Regions from separate parts of the Homo sapiens genome. Here region 1 is linked to region 2. The links are contacts of gene promoters, found by promoter capture Hi-C in human tissues and cell types (Jung and others, 2019). All regions are on one chromosome and are shown on one strand. Each heading gives the region's core, a stretch centred on a gene start or on the middle of the fragment in contact. The rest is flanking DNA. Distances are from core to core; before and after follow the strand shown.

The links. The method cuts DNA at HindIII sites, captures the fragments that hold promoters and counts their contacts. A contact is called where the count stands out against the background at its distance.
Region 1: a contact is called between a fragment that was not itself captured here and the fragment with the promoter of GSTA4 in region 2, in 1 of the 25 tissues and cell types used here (dorsolateral prefrontal cortex).

What each region holds. Positions count from the first base shown.
Region 1 is chr6:53,476,684-53,482,537 of GRCh38, forward strand. All of the region lies in intron 3 of GCLC-AS1 (GCLC antisense RNA 1), which reads left to right. Among named protein-coding and RNA genes, the nearest start is that of GCLC-AS1, 48 kb to the left of the region's middle. The HindIII fragment of the contact is 6,838 bases long and covers 1-4,942 here.
Region 2 is chr6:52,992,291-52,998,450 of GRCh38, forward strand. GSTA4 (glutathione S-transferase alpha 4) reads right to left here and starts at 2,994. Exons shown (of 7, transcript NM_001512.4): 1 at 2,959-2,994; 2 at 1,867-1,971. The coding sequence starts at 1,953. RN7SK (RNA component of 7SK nuclear ribonucleoprotein) reads left to right here and starts at 3,330; the gene lies at 3,330-3,661. RefSeq lists silencers at 2,915-3,146, 3,478-3,567 and an enhancer at 3,098-3,317. The HindIII fragment of the contact is 14,338 bases long and covers 1-6,160 here.

The DNA.
Region 1 (5,854 bases), core at 274-2,773, 480 kb after region 2:
AACAAACAAACAAACAAACAAACAAAAAATAATGCCATTAGTCACTGAAAAGTTATAATAATACTCTTGTATATGTATTTTACTACCACAGAGCAACAAAAAGCTAGTAACTAAAAACTTGGTAATGTTATTATTTTTTATTTTTAATTTATTTTTATATATTTTTTCCTCAATCTCACATCATTGACATGTAGTAATATTTTAAGGCTATCTTTTATGACTGGAGTCTAGAACACAAACAAACATAAATTTGAGAATTGAAGAAGAGTTAATTGATGTTAACCCTAATGTCCATTAGTTGAGAGCCATTGGCTAACAGATCTGGCATGAGATTGAAAGTAAAGACAGCATCTTCCATGGAGGCCTTGCAGTGTTCCTAGATCCACTTTACGTAAAAGAATGAAAATGACAGAAAAGTATAAAGAAACAATTAAAACCATCCAAAATCTGACCAGCTAAAGGAAATCACTGTGCATATTTCAAATTGCTTCCATTCTTTTTAGTATGCTTACTTGTATTTGTTGCATAGTTGTTATTTTATTGCATATCAGGCTCCATGATCTGTGTCATGTACTAAAACCACATGATGATTATTTTATCATGTCATTAAAAATTATTCATAAATACCTTTTCTAGCAGTTGCAAATGCTACATACCATTCATTCCAAAACATAACATTTATAACTGTTTCTGTATCAGTAGACTTACTTTGGGTTGTCTAATTTTTTAAAATTATAAGTAGCACTATGAAGAGATATTGTTATACTGATATACATGAATATATATATATAATATGCACTTTGCATTTCTGATCATCTTCTTATGATAGATTCCTAGAAATAGACTATCTCAGTAAAAATATGAATATTTTAAAGCTCTTAGGTTAGTGTTATCGAAGTGTGGGAAAGTGCCCATTTTGCTTTATCTCTGCCAGTGTTGTGTATTATACTCTTAAAAAAACCCGACTCTACCAATTTTGTTAGCAAAAATTAATTCCATTTCCCGTTTCATTTCCTTGATTACAAGTAGGTTTGTTTATTTTTCTATTCATTCATTAGCTTTCCCTTTTTCTTTTCTTTTCTTTTTTTTTTTTTCAGATGAATTCTTTCTCTGTCGCCCAGGCTGGAGTGCAGTGGTGCAATCTCAGCTCGCTGCAACCTCCGCTTCCCAAGTTCAAGCAATTCTCCTGCCTCAGCCTCCCAAGTAGCTGGGATTACAGACACGTGCCACCACATCCAGCTGATTTTTGTATTTTTAGTAGAGGCGGGGTTTCACTATGTTGGCCAGGATGCTCTCAATCTCATGACCTCAGGTGATCCACCCGCCTTGGCCTCCCAAAGTGCTGGGATTACTGGCGTGAGCCACCATGCCCGGCCTAGCCTTCCCTTTTTTCTTAATTTTTATTTTTAAAATTTTAATTGTGGTTAAAATACATATAGCATAAAATTTACCAGTTAACCATTTTTTAAGTGTACAGTTCTGTAGTTAAGTAAATCCATGTTCAACCAATCTCCAGAACCCATTTCATCTTGCAAATTGAAACTATACATTCATTAAACAACAATATCCCATTCCCTCTCCTTATAGTTCCCAGCAATCATGATTTACCTTCTGTCTCTGAATTTGACTACTCTAAACACCCCATATGATTAGAAAAATACAATACTTGTCCTTTTGTGACTGGTTTATTGAACTTAGCATGTCCTCAAGGTCCATTTATGTTGTAGCATGTGTCAGAATTTCCTTTTTTTAAAGGCTAAATATTTTATTGCATGTATATACCAACCACATTTTCCCACCTTTGGTTTTGTTAAATCTTTATTTGTTTTTATTTTGTTAACCTTTATTTTCAGTCCAGGGGTACACGTGCAGGTTTGTTACTTAGGTAAATTGTGTGTCACAGGGGTTTGGTGTACAGAGTATTTTGCCACCTAGGTAATAAGCATAGTACCTGATAGGCAGGTAGCTTCTCAATCCTCACCCTCCTCCCACCCTTCACCCTCAAGTAGGTGCTGGTGTCTGTTGTTTACTTCTTTATGTCCTTGTGTACTCAATGCTTAGCTTCCACTTATAAGTGAGAAGATGTGGTGTTTGGTTTTCTGTTTCTGCACTAGTTTGCTCAGGATAATGGCCCCCAACTCCATCCCTGTTGCTGCAGAGGACATGATCTTGTTCTTTTCCATGGCTGTGTGGTATTCCATAATGTATATGTACCATATTTTCTTCATCCAACCTACCATTGATGGGCATTTAGGTTGGTTCCATGTCTTTGCTATTGTAAATAGTGCTGCAATGAACATACACACGCACGTGTCTTTATCCTAGAATGATTTTTATTCCTTTGTGTATATACCCAATAATGGGATTGCTGGGTTGAATGGTAGTTCTAAATTCTTTGAGAATCACCAAGCTGCCTTCCACAAGGCTGAACTAATTTACTTTCCCATCAGCAGTGTGTAAGAATTCCCTTTTCTCCACAACCTTGGCAGCATCTGTTGTTTTTTGACTTTTTAATGACAGCCATTCTGACTGGTGTGAAATGTATATGTCACATTTCGTTTAAGTCTGCATTAAATCTGTAGATCACTTTCAGTAGTACTCAATCATAACGGTATTAAGTTTTCCAATCCATTAACACAAGACGGCTTTTCAAGCTTTCCCTTTTTTGTGAATTTTTTTTCATATCCTTTGCCTTTTCTAGGCAGTCTTAATATCTTTAATTGTCAATGTTTACCAACTCTTTATATATTAAGGACATTCACCTTTTGTTATATTGTGTCACATATTTTCCCCAGCTAGCTATTCAGCTTTCCATTTTAATTTTTTTTGGGGGTGGGTGGGGGCGGGTCGAATCTCACTCTGTGGCCCGGGCTGGAGTGCAGTGGCATGATCTCGGCTCACTGTGACCTCCACCTCCTGGGTTCAAGTGATTCTCTGCCTCAGCCTCCTGAGTAGCTGGGATTACAGGCACTCGCCACCACATCCAGCTAATTTTTGTATTTTTAGTAGAGACGGGGTTTCACCACGTTGGCCAGGCTGGTCTTGAACTCCTGACCTCAAGTGATCCTCCTGCTTCGACCTCTCAAAGTGCTGGGATTACAGGCATGAGCCATCGTGCCCGGCTTAGCTTTCCATTTTCTTGATGATGTTTTGCTATGAGTTTTATATCAACTTAAAGTTTACAGTAGTCTTTTGAATTTTTTTTAAGGATAATTTTTTAAAACTGCACTCAGCTAGAAAAATAGCTAGCATTTATTGAGTGCTTACTATTCTATAAGCACTATCTTAAATGCTTGACTTGTACTAGTTCTTTTATCCTCACAACTCTGTAAGTGCTATTATTACCATCCCTACTTTGCATACGAAGAAACTAAGGCATAAGCAGGTTAGGTAACTTCCCCAAGGTCACATAGTTAAAGTCAAGCAATCAGATGCCAGAGACCTTGTTCCTTGAGCTCTATGTTCTACTGCCTCCTGTCCTTATTTGTGCCTTTTTCTCTCTATTCATGATCAATCATTTTATATGTTTATCAGGGAAAATGACTAAGAAGCAGGGAGTCTTTTTTTACTATACTTTAAGTTCTGGGGTACATGTGCAGAACGTGCAGGTTTGTTACATAGGTATACACGTGCCATGGTAGTTTGCTGCACCCATCAACCCATCACCTACATTAGGTATTTCTCCTAATACTATCCCTCCCCTGGTCCGCCCAACCCCTGACAGGCCCCAGTGTGTGATGTTCCCCTCCCTGTGTCCATGTATTCTCATTGTTCAGCTCCCACTTATGAGTGAGAACATGTGGTGTTTGGTTTTCTGTTCTTGTGTTAGTTTGCTGAGAATGATGGTTTCCAGCTTTATCCATGTCCCTGCAAAGGACATGAACTCATCCTTTTTATGGTTGCATAGTATTCCATGGTGTATATGTGCCACATTTTCTTTATCCAGTCTATCGTTGATGGGCATTTGGGTTTGTTCCATGTCTTTGCTATTGTGAATAGTGCCGCAATAAACATGTGTGCATGTGTCTTTATAGTAGAATGATTTATAATCCTTGGGGTATATACCCAGTAATGGGATCGCTGGGTCAAATGGTATTTCTCGTTCTAGATCCTTGAGGAATCGCCACACTGTCTTCCACATGGTTGAACTAATTTACACCCCCACCAACAGTGTAAAAGCAGTCCTATTTCTCCATATCCTCTCCAGCATCTGTGGTGTCCTGACTTTAATGATCACCATTCTAACTGGCGTGAGATGGTATCTCATTGTGGTTTTGATTTGCATTTCTCTAATGACCAGTGATGATGAGCTTTTTTTCATATGTTCGTTGGCTGCATAAATGTCTTCTTTTGAGAAGTGTCTGTTCATATCCTTTGCACACTTTTTGATGGGGTTTTTTTCTTGTAAATTTGTTTCAGTTCTTTGTAGATTCTAGATACTAGCCCTTTGTCAAGTGAGTAGGTTGCAAAAATTTTCTCCCATTCTGTAGGTTGCCTGTTCACTGTGATGATAGTTTCTTTTGCTGTGCAGAAGCTCTTTAGTTTAATTAGATCTCATTTATCAATTTTGGCTTTTGTTGCCGTTGCTTTTGGTGTTTTAGTCATGAAGTCTTTGCCCATGCCTATGTCCTGAATGGTATTGCCTAGGTTTTCTTCCAGGGTTTTTATGGTTTTAGGTCTTACATTTAAGTCTTTAATCTATCTTGAATTAATTTTTGTATAAAGTGTAAGGAAGGGGTCCAGTTTCAGTTTTAAGAAGCAGGGAGTCTTTGCAAGCTCAAGGTAGGATCTTTGTCAAACAGGAAATATGGTATTATGCAGCAGTGAAACGAGGTCAGTTCTGAGTCCTCAGTCTAGGTTACAGGAACAAAGTTAAGAGTTTGTTCTTATGAGGAATAGAACTGAGTATGTCTCTAGGTCAAGAAAAACACTGTGGCAAAAATGAGAACATTGAGCAACTAATTCAAAATTTCATATGGAACAGTTTCAATAACCATCGGGTAAATGACTTCTTATGGTGAGTGTGCTCAGAAGTGCTCACTAATACTGGTTGATTGAGAGTGATATTTACAATACCAAACAGTCATGTCATTAATAGTATAACAACTTTTTCTTACCAGGGGCTTTTTTGAGCCAGTAAAGGAGAGGATCTTCCCTAGGATTTTTGTTTGTTTTTAAGACTAGCAATGTGCTAACTGCATCCCTTCTACATCCATGAAAGAGAATGCACCCTAGGCTCTCTAGACCAAACTCAGGCATGCTTTACTTGTGGCGTGCATTCAAAAGGAGGAGAACATGGTGAAAATGTCTTGAACATCATTCTAGTAACCATAGTGATACCAAAGCAAACCTGGATCCTTATCTCATATCTTGTTTATTTTTCAGAAAGAATTTATTTACACATAGACCTTTAATTTTGAAAAAGATGCCCCTCTTTGTTATTTGATTGTGTAAGTGATGTTTTGTTGGCCTTGCTTCACAGCAAGTCTCTGTAATACCTCGGTATGTTGCCAGTGGCTGTCTCTGTCCTCACAAACAAATGTTCCATACTTGTCTGACCTGGGCAGCCAGGCTATGGGGTCCAAGGAAGGATAGAACACCTGGAAAGTGACAGCAATGTTTTTGGGGTCAGAACTCTCAAAGTGGAAAAGTTATTCAAGATCCAGCTGCAGAATGAATGAGCACGTTCTCTGCTTTTAAAAAAAAGTTTTATTTTTTAAAAAGAAGTAATAAAGCTGGGCATGGTGGTGCTCTCCTGTAGTCCCAGTTGCTCAGGAGGCTGAGATGGGAGGATTGCTTAAGCCCAGGAGTTTGAGACTAGCCTAAGCAATACAGTGAGACTCCATCTCTAAAA
Region 2 (6,160 bases), core at 1,744-4,243:
GTCTATAGTGACACAAAGAATTGAATAACTGAAGAAATGAGTGGAGATAAATCTTCCTTATATAAAAATTCCAAATGTAGATACTCCCTCACCCAGGAGGTAGAGCTTAATTCTCATCATTTTGAATGTGGGCTGGACTTCATGATCTGCTTCAGAAGAATACAAGGAAACATAGTAACTTTAAAATGCAGCAACCTGGCAGAGACTACCTTAACCATGTGATCCAGGTTAATACTGCCAGTGACAACTCATGTTGATACGTAACCCCTAATATGATGACGTGAACATACTTCACCTCTGTGGCATTCTTTCCCCAAACCCATAACCTCAGTCTAATCATGAAAAAAACAAGATAAACCCAATTTGTAGAGGATTCTACAAAAATATCTGACCAGTGCTTTTCAAAACCGTCAAGATGGTAAAATGAAGGAAACGACTGGGAAATTGTCATGGATTGTTGGCAACTATGGAAACAGGATGAATAAATATAATGTTGGATCGCGGGATAGTAAAAGGACATTAGCAAAGGGCCGGGCGTGGTGGTTCACACCTGTAATCCCAGTACTTTGAGAGGCCCAGGTGGGTGCATCACTTGAGGTCTGGAGCTCAAGATCAGCCTGGCCAACATGGAGAAACCCTGTCTCTACTAAAAAAATACAAAAATTAGCTGGTCGTGGTGGTGTGCACCTGTAGTCCCAGCTACTAGGTAGGCTGAGGCAGGGGAATTGCTTGATCCTGGGAGGCGGAGGTTGCAGTGAGCCGAGATCACACCACTGCACTCCAGCCTGGGCTACAGAGCCAGCCTCCGTCAAAAAAAAACCCAGAACATTAGTAGAAAAAACAGTGAAATCTGAATAAAGTCTGTAGTTTAGTTAGTCATGCACCAATGTTAATTTCGTAATATGACATGGTGATGTAAGATGTTATCATTAAGGGAGACTGAATGAGGGACTGTATTATTTTACAACTTTTCTATAAATCTGAAAATATTCCCAAATATAAATTTGTAAAAAATGAAGAGGAAACTTACAGGTTTTTAAAATACCGAAAGAAACATAACCATTTTAAATGTAATGCGTAGACCAATGTCTAGATCCAAACTAAAACAAACTATAAAAACAAACAAACAAACAAAATGCCTGTTTGAGACAATCAGACTGAAGGTTAGATGACAAAGAATTGCTAATTTTGTTGGATGTGATAATAATATTGTTACATTTTAAAATCCTCATCTGTTAGAGGAAAATGTTGAGGAACTCCCAGATGAAATGTTATGATGTTTGGATTTTGCTTTAAAATACTCCCACAAAACAAGGGAAGGGAGGTGATAGATGAAACAAGATTAGCATAGAGCTGATGATTGCTGAAGTCGGGTGATGAGTACATAGAATTCATGGCAATGTTCTCTCTACATTTATTGGTATTTGAAAATTTCCATACTAAGAAGCTAAAAGAACAGAACGAAAACAAAAACAGACACACACACATATGTAAGCAAGATACCAAGGCTGCCAGTTTGAAGCCACTGAAGAAAACAAGAAATTTACCCTGAGAATGCATAATTAATAAGAGCTCAGAGTAACTGACAATTTTCAGGTAAATTTCCTTTCTTCTTATTAATAAATATTCACTGGTGCTAGATCAGAAGCCAATAATTAAGTAAAAGTCAAAAGGAAAATAGAATTCCATCAACTACGTTCTAATTATAAAGAAAAATCCCTTCAGGGATGGTATCTGACTCAGTGAAGCGTGCCTGTGATTTTGGTGGACGAGAACTAGAACTGAACGGTGCTTCAAAACGTATTTTTCTTTCAAAGGTCTCAAAAGCTGTATGACAAATCCGTGAAGAAACAGCATATAAGGTACCTCGACTCCGGCGGCAGCTAAAACCCATCTCACGGACTCCATCCGGCCTCTTCCGTTGGGATAGTGGAGCTTGGGCCTTGCTGCCATGATAGCTTTTCAGGCTTTCTGAAATACAAATGCAGCAGCTCGTCGCAGACCAACAGTCCCAATTTCGCGTCTTCAACCCAGTGCTCAGGGGCGAAATGAATATTCAGGATTTTGGCACGGGAAACTGTTCTTTATTTTTGTTGCTGCATTTTCCCTCACTCAAGAAAAAAAAACCACCATTTTAAAACATGGAGAAAAAAACCTTGGCTTTTATATGATTTCTATTTATGACTTCTTATCCTGGATCTTGGGAAGCTGGGGCCATTTGTTGTAAAAACATATGTGCTAGCAGTACGGGATTTCACAAATTCAGAATATTATATATTTTGACCTCGAGAATCTCAGATTTTCCAAATTCAGCTGGGGGATAGGGGGTGGCAGGCGTTGAAGAGGGTAGCGAAGGAAAATCGCACAGCCACTGGAAGCTCTTCAAGTATTCATGCTTTTACATACATCATCATATTTTATTATCACGGCAACTGGAAGGTGAACAGGCCGAGTACTACTACTGTCTGCAAAATGTGCGTCCACCGTCACGCATGCGGTGGCTGCGCCCCCCGGGTCCCGCGTGTCCACCACCCCTACAGGGAGATGAGCCCCCGGCCTTGTAAAACGAGCCGGGGGCCAGGGCTTGGCCATCTGAGATCGCACTCTCCCATGCTCGTCTTCCCCGCTCAGCCCATGCAGGGGCGTAGCGGCAGCCCAGCCAGGCCCGGGGACGATCCGAGCCCACCTTCCACCAATGCATTCAGACTCCGCAGAAGGGGTTTAAAAAAAAATACGCACACTGAGCCAAGAAGGACCCCAGCTCCAGCCAAGGGGCCCACCTCTGCCCAGACTGGATGGAGCAGGAGGACAAAGGACAAGAGGAAGAAAAGACAAGAGAAGGACTGAACTGGGGGAGTGAGGGAAGAATGCGAGAGTGAGACTCAGAGAGTAAAGGGGAGGGAAAAAAAAGAAGAGAGAAAGGGCGAGGAAGGGGGCGACCGCAGGAGGGAGACAGACCTGGAGTCCACTCGGAGGCCTGGAGCCGCACAAAGCGCCAGGTCAGCGGTCCCGGCTGGGTGAGACCAGCAGGCGGCTCTAGCGCGCGGGAGCTGGGCGAGGCTCCGGGACGACCTCACCAATGGAGACTGCAGTATTTAGCATGCCCCACCCATCTGCAAGGCATTCTGGATAGTGTCAAAACAGCCGGAAATCAAGTCCGTTTATCTCAAACTTTAGCATTTTGGGAATAAATGATATTTGCTATGCTGGTTAAATTAGATTTTAGTTAAATTTCCTGCTGAAGCTCTAGTACGATAAGCAACTTGACCTAAGTGTAAAGTTGAGACTTCCTTCAGGTTTATATAGCTTGTGCGCCGCTTGGGTACCTCGGATGTGAGGGCGATCTGGCTGCGACATCTGTCACCCCATTGATCGCCAGGGTTGATTCGGCTGATCTGGCTGGCTAGGCGGGTGTCCCCTTCCTCCCTCACCGCTCCATGTGCGTCCCTCCCGAAGCTGCGCGCTCGGTCGAAGAGGACGACCATCCCCGATAGAGGAGGACCGGTCTTCGGTCAAGGGTATACGAGTAGCTGCGCTCCCCTGCTAGAACCTCCAAACAAGCTCTCAAGGTCCATTTGTAGGAGAACGTAGGGTAGTCAAGCTTCCAAGACTCCAGACACATCCAAATGAGGCGCTGCATGTGGCAGTCTGCCTTTCTTTTGACCCATTACCCATCTAAGTTAGATGCTTTTTTAAATGTTTTTTAATTTTTAAATTTTTAATTTTTTTCATTATTTATTTTTTATTTTTGAGACGGATCTCGGCTCACTGTAACCTCCACCTCCCGGGTTCAAGCGATTCTCCTGACTCAGCCTCCCGAGTAGCTGGGATTACAGGCGCGCGCCACCATGCCCGGCTAATTTTTCTATTTTTAGTAAAGACGGGGTTTCGCCATGTTGACCAGGGTGGTCTTGAACTCCTGACGTCAGGTGATCCTCCTGCCTCGTGCTGGGATTGCAGGCGTGAGCCACCGCTCCCGGCCCTTAGATGCTTTTTAATCAGCAAGTACGCAATGCTTTCCTGACAGGAATGTCAAGTCCGTCAGGAAATCCACATAAGGGTGTTAAGCAGGCAAAGTACCACATACAGATTAAAATCAAAAGCACTGTCAACGCTTATTTAATTTATACAGTAGACCCTAACTTTTCTAATTTTGTGTATACATATATATACATGTATACATGTATACAAACATACATATTTTCTTCTTTCTTTCTTCATCTCAGTGGGACATCTTGAGATTTCTCTTCATTTTGTACATTTTAGAGACAAGTGCTCTATAGTCACGGTCTCAAGTCAGCACCTGTTTGGAAGGGGGTCTTTGGAGTTGGGGGTGGTGCTAAAAGAATAATTTGGCTGGCAAGTTAGTTAAAACATTAAAAATATATTAAAACTATCAGGGCTATATTATGGAACAATTGCAAAATTCACATGGATTTCAAAGTTTGAAATATATGCCTTCGAAAATAAATTTTGTTTTTAGAGGCAGCTTCTGCTATTTCTCAGGCTATAGATGTTGTTATTTTCTTCACCCACGGGGGCGCTCGAGAGTACCTTGCTTGACAAGCCTGGGTGCTGAACAATTGCAGCCGCTAACATGATCAGATTTTATTTTCAATAGGTTTCTCTGGCCAAAGTGAGGCGAATGAATTGGGGTAGTAGGGGTAGAGAAAGAAACCTCTTGTGTCTGTGTAAATTAAAGTAGCACCATGAGTTTGAAGAATATGAGTAAGAAAAGGTGAAATACTAAGGAGGTAGGTGGTAAAGCAATTGCTAATCAGATCAAAGGGAAGGGAGGAGGAAGAAAAGTCTAGAATGATGCCCTGTCCAACACACACACACACACACACACACACACACACACACACACACACACACACACACACTTCTTGTCTTTTTTTTAATAACATGTATTGTCATCTAACAGGACTTTTTTATTTATTTGTCTGTAGATTCCTAGAATGTAAATTCCACGAGATCGAGGATTTTTGCGCTTTTGGTTTTCCTTTTGTACATCCTGGTTAGTATAGAGTAGGTATTCAGAGAACACTTGTTGAATGAATGAATGAGCAATGCTTTGGTTTCTAGTTCCATAAAGAGCGGAGAAGGAAGACAAAGTTTGGGGAAAATGGGTTGACTTGTCTTTTGTTGCTATGAACCATCCAGCTGGAAATACCCACTAGACAGTTGAAAAAGCCATTGAGGGCTGGGCGCAGTGGCTCACGCCTGTAATCCCAGCACTTTGAGAGGCTGAGGCGGGCGGATCACCTGAGGTCAGGAGTTCAAGACCAGCGTGGCCAACATGGTGAAACCCTGTTTCCACTAAAAATACAAAATTAGTCGGGCGTGGTGGCCTGTTCCTGTAGTCCCAGCTATTCAGGAGGCTGAGGCGGGAGAATCGCTTGAACCTGGAAGGCGGAGGTTGCAGTGAGCCGTGATCACGCCCCTGCAGTACAAGCTGGGCGAGAAAGTAAGACTCCCTATAAAAAAAAAACCGAAAAGACAAAAACCAACCCAGTGAGGACTCAGTAGAGAGAACTGAAATCGGTTGAATTGGTGGCAAAAGAATGAGCTCATCCAGAGAAGGTATGCAGGGTAAGAAGAGAGGTAAGTCAAGGACCACTGGGCACCCCAAAAGTCAGAAAAGTCGTTTTCAAAAAAGACTTAACAGTGTATATCCAATCATATTTCTAGTTCTGATTTAACAGCAATTACTCAGTTTAACATGAGTAGGAAGCCATATTTTCCAGCCTTGCTGAAAGTGGTCATTCTTTTTTTCTTGCTTTTAGTTTATAATTAAGGAAGGTTTATTGAACATCTGTGCTGAGGTCTACTGGATTTACTGAGACATAAAAAATAAATTATAAAATCCAGTTCTTGCCCTCAAGGAGCTTATTTTTTAATTGACAAATAAAATTGTATATTTTTACTGTGTACAACATGATATTTTAAAGTACAGTCATCCCTCAGTATCTGTGGGGGATTGGTTTCAGAACCCCCTCAGCTACCAAAATCAGACCATGCTCCAGTCCCTTATATAAAACGGTGTAGTATTTGCATGTAACTTAACACACATCCTTTGGTTTACTTTAAATCATCTCTAGATTTTTTATGTTAACCTAAATAACAAACAGAAAGAGGCTCTTTAAAAATATTTATT